Regions from separate parts of the Homo sapiens genome. Here region 1 is linked to region 2. The links are contacts of gene promoters, found by promoter capture Hi-C in blood cells and fetal thymus (Javierre and others, 2016). All regions are on one chromosome and are shown on one strand. The core of a region is centred on a gene start or on the middle of the fragment in contact, and the rest is flanking DNA. Distances in the headings are between cores, read along the strand shown.

Region 1 (4,217 bases), core at 1,718-4,217, 150 kb after region 2:
GTAAGAAGAGAGCCCTCTGCACCCTGGGAAACCTGGATTATAATTCTGTCTTTACTGTGGATTGAGCCAAAGACTGTTGTGTGCCCATCCTTCCTCCCTCTAAGAAGTATTTCCATTTCTAGAAGAGAGATGATAATCTACTCTCCCTCTCAAAGATACCACTTAGAGGGCCTGCTTTCCATGTGGGGTTGTATCTCTCCTTTCTTTCTGTGAGTTACTTTTCCCTCTCTGACCTCCACTTATTTGAGTTTCACCCATTGACCCAGATAATAATAGGAAATCCCTAGTAATAGACATAGATGAGAACTCTCTCCTTCACCTCCATAACTAATCTATCACCGCTACATTATGTTGACTATGCGCCCAAAATGTACAAAACCCATCCACTTTTTTCTGTATCCACTGCCATCACTAGACTAGACAACTGAGTTTCTAGACCTCACAGCTAAGAAAGTCTTACCTGGTCTCTTTGCTAGCACTTTTTTTTTTTTTTTTTTTGAGATGGAGTCTCACTCTTTTGCCCAGGCTGGAGTATAGTGACCTGATCTCGGCTCACCGCAAGCTCTGCCTCCCGGGTTCACGCCATTCTCCTGCCTCAGCCTCCCGAGTAGCTGGGACTACAGGCACCCACCACCATGCCCAGCTAACTTTTTGTATTTTTAGTAGAGACAGGTTTCACCCTGTTAGCCAGGGTGGTATCGATCTCCTGACCTCATGATCCGCCCGCCTCAGCCTCCCCAAGTGCTGGGATTACAGGCGTGAGCCACCGCGCCCTGCCCCTTGCTACCACTTTTAGCTCTTCTGACCTATTCTCCACACAGCAGCCAGAATAAGAGAATTGTGTCTTTCCCTGCCTAATTATTCAGTGGCTTCCCATTATACTTATCATAAAATCCAAACTCTTAGCATCACATGTGATAATAAAGTCCAGTCAGGAAAACAGAAACCATTCTTGATGTTTCAAAGAGGGGACTTAATGTAAAGAATTTGTAAAGTGGGTGTGGTAGAATTGAAAAAAAAAGTGTAAAGGGAAAACTGCAGTGACAGAGATAGTAACTGTAGGAAACAGCTACCACACATGGGGTCTGGATAGAGAAAGGGTTGGGTTTACCAGACCTTGGAAGCTTGGAAGAGAGGCCCCGCAGAGCTGGGACTTGGATTTGGCGAGGGTGCTGGGGGTTGGGAGCTGGGAGCTGGGCAGTGTTGCCTGACTGGTGCTGATACCTCTGAAGAGTCCAATGAGGCTGCTTCTGGAAGAAGCTTTGTTCACTGCTTTTTTTTTCCGCTTAACATGGGGAATCTTGCACGCTGGAGTGCAGTGGTGTGATCTTGGCTTACTGTAACCTCTGCCTCCTGGGCTCAAGCCATCCTCCCACCTCAGCCTTTCGAATAGCTGCAAGCACGTACCACCACTCCAGGCTAATTTTTTATATTTTTTTGTAGAGATGGGGCTTTGCCATGTTGCCCAGGCTGGTCTCAAACTTCTGAGCTCAAGCGATCGGCCCACCTCAGCCTCCCAAAGTGCTGGGATGACAGGTGTGAGCCACCACCCCTGGCCCTGTTCACTGCTTTATATTTGGCTCCAGTACCTCATATATTATAGGCAATCACATGTTTCCGGAATAAATGAATGGATTCTCCCAACCCTTACCTGTCTACTTCAGGTCATCTAGAGTGGCTGACAGGCATGGATTGGAGACTCTAACGGTACTTGTTTTCATTTTTCTGCCCAGCAGACTAGAGGACAAAGCAGCCTGGAGGGCAGAGGCAACCTAAACATGCAAGGAGTTCAACAGTTGTACCCCCATTTACCTGGCCACGGTAGGCCCAGGAATGGGAGGAGCCTACTAGTGAGGCCCCGAAGTGTCTCACTTTCCTTATCTCTTCCGTTGACTTGCACTGGCTCTCCTCATTTATCCAGCCACCTTCTCTGAGCTGATAATCCAAAGCCCATCAGTAACTAGTCCACTCCTGTCTCCTCTTCTCCACCATGAATCACCAATGAAGTCATGGTGTCCCAAATAGGTCACATTCCAGCCCACCTCTTTGTCGAGGCCCTTTGAAGATGTTTTTTTCTGAGTTGAGCAGAGGCTGTGAAATATGTGACTTTCGGAGCTGTCCTGCAGAGCTTCTCCTTAGGGGCATGGTCGAGGACAGCAAATGCAGAGAGAAGCAGTGGCCCAGGCAGAGCTCAATAAAGAAACAAAAGTATATTCTCCTCTTCTGCCTTTGCTTCTCCTTCGTCCCCTTAAATTCTTTTTCTTCTGGATTTGAGGTAGAAAGCACATTCTCCTTTGCTCATATTTAACTTTTCTCACTTAGAAAAAAAGTGAAGCTCGCTGCCAGCACTCATTTAATTTCATATAAACATGCTCTCTGAGGGTGAAGCAAATGTGACTGATTTTCAATGTGAAAATAAAATATAAAAACTGTTCTTGGAGTTATTTCTAAACAGAAATAACATTAGAATTGCCTGAATCATCAGAATTGTCTTTCAGAAAAATCAGATTCATCAAATAGATCTTTGGCTTACAACTGTTAGAGAATGATGTTATCATATGTAAGAATGCTATGTTTTCTAGGATTTGACATTTTCAGCGATTGAGAATTACTGTATTTTGTAAAAGGAAATACCACTACTAAATGCTGTAAATAGAATGATGTCTTTTGTTTCCAAAGTTGATATACTAGAGCAATGCGAAAATAATAAAAGAGAGATGGCCAGGAGCAGTGGCTCACACCTGTAATCCCAACACTTTGGGATGCTGAGGCAGGAGGATCACTTGAGGCCAGTTCAAGACCAGCCTGGTCAACATGGCAAAACCCTGTTAGTTGGGCATGGTGGTGCAGGCCTGTAGTCACAGCTACTTGGGAGGCTGAGGCACGAGAATTGCTTTAACCTGGAATGCAGAGGTTGCAGTGACCTGAGATCGCACCACTGCACTCCAGTCTGGGCGACAGAGAGAGACCCTGTCTCAAAAAATAATAAAAGCAAGCTATTTTGTAGCAAAGTTATCTCAGGGTAAACACTGCAGCTGCCAGTGCTGCTGGCAAGTATTCTTGGGGCAAATGCTTAACTTTTCAAAAAGCTCAAGAGACCATGATGCTTGTTTTGCACCATACCTTAGAAAACGTCCTACTACCTTGTGTGCACCAGCCAACAACCATAGACAAATGTACCTATCTTCTACCACTTTTTATCCATGGCAATTTCATAAAAGTTTAACTATCTGTGACTCATCACAGATGAATTTTAAGTTTAGTTCCTAGTGTTTCTCATATCCATCCTTCCTTTCACCTACCATTCTCATCTACTAAACTCTTCAGGAGTCAGAATCTCTTGATGAACCTTGTTTTTCCCTTGTTTCTGTGATCTTCCCTCTCATGATGGCACAAACCCTTCCCAATCCAATTAATTCCCTCTTCCCCATTTCCTACCCCTATTCCTTCTCTGCATGTCCTACTGCCCTGAAGCAGGCTCTACACTTACATACATCATTTTCAGGACCCTGCAGGCTTCTGCACGAGTATAGTTTCTGATGGAGAAAATTACAACCAAAGGCCAAGGAAGTGGAGGGAGAAACAACTTTATTTTCATCAGAAATTAGTAATGTTTATAAATTTGTTTATAGTAGTTTGTAAATTATTATCAGAAATAGTAATGTCTATAAACCACTTACTTTAAGAGACAATCAGGAACTATGATGAGGGCAATAATAAAAGGAGAAATCTTACAAAAAATTAACCTGGATGTTGTGCTTGCTCTAAGGTTAAGTCACTTAGGGAAACAGATTCAGTATTATCCAATGGCTTAACCATCCTTCCTTCTTTCTGTTTGCTTTTTGGTGGTGGCTGGGTTACAAAGAGCAGTGTCTTCTGCCCTGAAGGTAGCAGTATTACGGTGGGTGCCTAGAGGTCAATTATTGGTTTAGAAGAGATTCAGGCCCTTAACTTTTACATGTGCTTTCCAGGAAAGGAGACACTTTCTTTCTCAGCCCTGTGTGAGGACTATGTTAGCCCAGAAAGTGTTCTTGGACCACTGGGTGCCCATTCTCAGTGCTAGGAACAGGAAGACCCTGGTTTCCTGGTAGAATTTATGGATCCTACAGCTTTCTCTCCATCAAACTTTAAGTCACAGTAAGATAGGACTCTGGAGTCACAGGCACAGCCAGGAGAGGTCAGCGTCCTTATGCTGACTCCTGGTCCTAGACATGGGT
Region 2 (4,375 bases), core at 226-2,725:
AGTCTGGCGGAACTCTCAGTATAAAGGACTGCTTTGGCTTTGGGGGCATAGGAACCACTTTTGCAGCCATCATGCCTTGCAACCACACACCACACTCGTTTCGCGGGGCCTCCAGAGCCACCTCTTACTAGAGGAAATCTGCCAGAGAGCCAAGCTGTAGACAGAGAAACCAGGGATTACCCAAAAGACCAGGCACGGCATTACTGCACTCCAATATGTGGCATGGCTGGTGAGGCTACATGAGATCTAAAGAAAACGACAGCTGGGATAGGGAAATCATAACTGAAACGCAGTATTTGAACAAGATATGCTTAGGAAGATGTGAAAGGAAGATCCTGAGAATGAAAAACAGAGACTGTGCAAACCTCAAGTCCAAAGGGAAGGGAGTAAGGGTGGAGCGGAGAAGGCCAAGGTCCAGCCTCCTGAGAAATACAAAGTGTGGCCAGGTACCGGTGGCTCACACCTGTAATCCCAGCACTTTGGAAGGCCCTGGCGGGTGGATCGCTTGAGTCCAGGAGTTCAAGACCAGCCTGGGCAACACAGCAAGACACCGACTCCATAAAAAAAAAAAAAATTAGCTGGGCGTGGCGACACAAGCCTGTGGTCCCAGCTACTGGGGAGCTGGGAGGATTGCTTGTGCCCAGGAGGTCGAGGCTGCAGTGAACTGTGATCGCGCCACTGCACTGCAGTCTGAGCGACAAAGCAAGACCCTGACTCTAAAAAAAGAAAGGAAAAGAGAAAGGAAAGAAGGAGGAAGGGAATCAGGGAAGAGAAAGAAAATAAAAGGAAAAAGAAAGAAAAGACAGAAAGAAAGACGGTGTGTAAAACCCACCAGGAATAGGTTAAATCAGGCTTGGAGAAAGAGCAATGGGCTAGAAGACAGGAAATCTGGGGTCAATACCGAGGACATCTGCCTAAAAGCAGGTTGGTCACTGAATCTGGCCATACTGTACCCCTCGAACCGAAGCTCCCTCCGGTGCCCTTTGGGCGGGGAGGCGGTTGGTGACTCTCCCGGGGAGCAGATGCAAGGCCGAGGAGGTGTCCACACACCGCCTGCCGACTCCTCTCCGCCGTCAAAGCTCTGCTGAGAGCGGCAGGCGACATCCCACTAAGGACCGCCGGGCCAGGCTCACTCTGGGGCCTCTTCCGCTGGTCAAGGAACACCTTTACCGTAAAGCTCAGCGTGCGCCCCTGCCTGAGGCGCTCACCAGGCTCCCTACCCGGCCTTGCTCCCTCAGCAACGGACACGCTCCGCTCCCCAGAGGCGGCCTCAGCCTGGTTCCCGCCCTCACGGAGCCCCTCACCTCTCGGGGCCTCTGCAGCCCCTGAGCGTTTGCTGGGGACGGCTCAGAGACTCAGGCTCCGGGAGAGATAGAAAAACTAGGCGCGAGCGGTCGAGCCCTCCCCTCGCCCTTCCGAGTGCCCTCACAGGTCGCCGGCGACTATTCGTTCGCGCCGCCGCCAGTTGAGGAGAACGGCAGGGACTCGGTGCCTTCTGGGAAGTCGGGCGCTCTGCGGCTGTGACGTCACAACCGGTGCCTTGTTTCCGGTGCAGAAGCCTGGTCTCCCCGTTCGGAGCCGGCAGTCTGCGCTTGAGACGTTAAGACTTGAGACAGGCCAGAGGAGCTCTCAGGGCCGGAGGGAGGCCAGGACGGCTGTAGCCTCTCTGTGGTTCTGCCTGGAAGACGGAAGGCAGGTGGTTGGCTCTAGTCATCCACGACGGGCTGGCACCTCTCCAGCTGCGGCCAGTCTAACCCCAGGGCCTGCTGGGAAATGTAGTTCGAATGCAAACAACCAATGGACGACCGTCAGGCGCGGCGGTTGGGGCGGGGCAGGCCCCCCCACCGCCCCACCCCCCGCCCACCCAGCGCCCGCGCTCCCCCCACCCCCCACCCCGCCACCCCCCTACCCCGCCACTCCCCCACCGCCCTACTCTCCCCACCCCCCACCCCCCTACTCTCCCCACCCCCCACCCCCCACCCCGCCACCCCCCACGGCGCCACCCCCCAACCCCCACCCCCCTACTCTCCCCACCCCCCTACTCTCCCCACCCCCCTACTCTCCCCACCCCCTACTCTCCCCACCCCCCTACTCTCCCCACCCCCCCACCCCCTACTCTCCCCACCCCCCTACTCTCCCCACCCCCCTACTCTCCCCACCCCCCCACCCCCTACCCTCCCCACCCCCCCACCCCCCTACCCTCCCCACCCCCCTACCCTCCCCACCCCCCTACCCTCCCCACCCCCCTACCCCGAGGCTTAAAGGAAGCAAGCTATCTCTCCGACCGGAAAATCAAGACGCCTCCGCGGTTTCCGCCTTTTACTGCGGTTCTCCAGTAAAAAGACTGCGGAGGCGGACAGGGTGTGGCCGCCATGGGACTCCGCCCCCGCTCTGGTGACTCCCATAGGTTAGAGATGGGGCACCGACATTGCCCACTCCAGCTTGCTAACTTCTACACTGCTGTCCGCACCGGCCGTCTTGTTTTTAAAGACATCTTAATTGCCCTTCTCCTACTGTCTCGGTTTCCTTTCTCAATTTCAGCTTCCTACGGAGGCCGAACAGAGTTTTGTGTTTGTGCGTTGTATCCACACTCGGTTCGTTCCCCAGTGACGCACTGATCAGGGTTCGGACAACTTGTGGGCAGGGATGGCCTTATTTCTCGATGTAATACCAGCCTCCAGAAAGTTGACAAAAGTAAAAATATAAATGAATGCCTCTTCTTAAAGTTAATTATACCTGACTAATGGCTGACGATGGCTTAAAATATGTTACAAAGAAACGAGTATGAAAACTGTGTGGCACCAAGACATTCTAGAAAAATAAGGAATATCTGCCTTTTCAGATCAAAATTTACTAAAAAGCCTCCGTTAATCAAAGCATTATGGTTTGAATTATGAGGCAAAACAGATAACTGAGATGTCTTGAAGTAAAATATAAACCTGTGTGATTGTATTTTTTAAGAACTTTTTCTTGACTCTGTTAACAAACAAGAAATAGACTGGAAGATAATTGTAAAGATTAGCTACACAAAAGATTATACATTCCTAAGACAAAATGAACCCCTGCCAACTGACAAAAAGCAAAGGCAATGAGGAGCTCTTCCCGAGAGGAGGAAAACTAATTGGTCATTAACATTTAAAAAGATGCTTAACCACACTACTAGTCAAGATTATCACTTTTAAAGGGAACCACATTTTTCACCTATCAAACAATGAAGGTGGAGAAATAGGCACTCCTTTCGCTGGTAGTGTGGTGTGTGAAGTCATCTTGTAATATATATTAAAATTAAAAGTACAAGTATGTACCCTTTGACCTTCACAATCTCATCTGTGAATCTGATGTCTACAAATTTCTTGTAGAATTCTTTGTAGTGACAAAAACTAGAAATGACATGCATGTTCATACGTAAGGAAAGGAGTAAATTGGTGCATTCATACTCTGGAAATTACCCAGCTATGAAAAAGAATGGATTGGAACTATATGTACACCTGGAGGGATGGCCATAAAATATTACATGAAAAAGTTTCAGAGCTACATATATTATGCATAATTATATTTTTGGAACAAACAAAACACCTTGTGTATGTTTGTGTTGAGGGATACACAATAGATTATTAAAATGGTTACTCATGGGATGGCCAGGCGCAGTGGCTCATGCCTGTAATCCCAGCACTTTGGGAAGCCAGAGGTGGGCTGATCACTGGAGGTTAGGAGTTCAAGACCAGCCTGGCCAACATGGGGAAACCCCATCTGTACTAAAAATACAAAAATTAGCCGGGCGTGGTGGCGGGTGCCTGTAATCTCATCTACTTGGGAGGAGGCTGAAGCACAAGAATTGCTTGAACCCAGGAGGTGGAGGTGGACGTTACAGTGAGCCAAGATCGCACCACTGCACTCCAGCCTGAGTGACAGGCACACCAGCCTGGGCGACAGAGTAGTAAGACTCTGTCTCTAAATAAATACGTAAAATAAAAATAAAATGGTTACTCAGAGGGAGGGAATGGAAATGGAGAAAAGGGAGAGATTACACTTTTTTTTTATTGTGTCACTTCATTTAATGAGCACGTCAATTTGGTAACTAAAAATAATAAAACCTTAAAAAAAAATAGAACAATAGGCCGGGCATGGTGGCTCATCCCAGCACTTTTGGAGGCTGAGGTGGGCAGATCATCTGAGGTCAGGAGTTCGAGAGCAGCCTAACATAGTGAAACCCGTCTCTACTAAAAAATACAAAATTAGCCGGGCGTGGTGATGCATGCCTATAATCCCAGCTACTCAGGAGGCTGAGACAGGAGAATCATTTGAACCTGGGAGGCAGAGGTTGCAGTGAGCTGAGATCATGCCACTGCACTCCAGCCTGGGTGACAGAGCAAGA

What was found. Contacts are between HindIII fragments. The CHiCAGO score rates a contact against its expected background, and 5 or more counts as called.
Region 1: a fragment that was not itself captured here is called in contact with the fragment with the promoter of ZNF200 in region 2 in 1 of 17 cell types (naive CD4 T cells); the score reaches 5.5 in naive CD4 T cells.

Annotation. Positions count from the first base shown.
Region 1 is chr16:3,378,514-3,382,730 of GRCh38, forward strand. It overlaps ZSCAN32 (zinc finger and SCAN domain containing 32), which reads right to left. Exons shown (of 7, transcript NM_001284527.2): 7 at 3,572-4,217. The region is part of intron 1 of LOC105371059 (a long non-coding RNA gene); the gene reads left to right. Among named protein-coding and RNA genes, the nearest start is that of ZSCAN32, 20 kb to the right of the region's middle. The HindIII fragment of the contact is 3,418 bases long and covers 1,259-4,217 here.
Region 2 is chr16:3,233,683-3,238,057 of GRCh38, forward strand. ZNF200 (zinc finger protein 200) reads right to left here and starts at 1,476. Exons shown (of 5, transcript NM_198088.3): 1 at 1,305-1,476; 2 at 1-154. The coding sequence starts at 73. RefSeq lists enhancers at 1,515-1,574, 1,585-1,794. The HindIII fragment of the contact is 8,399 bases long and covers 1-4,375 here.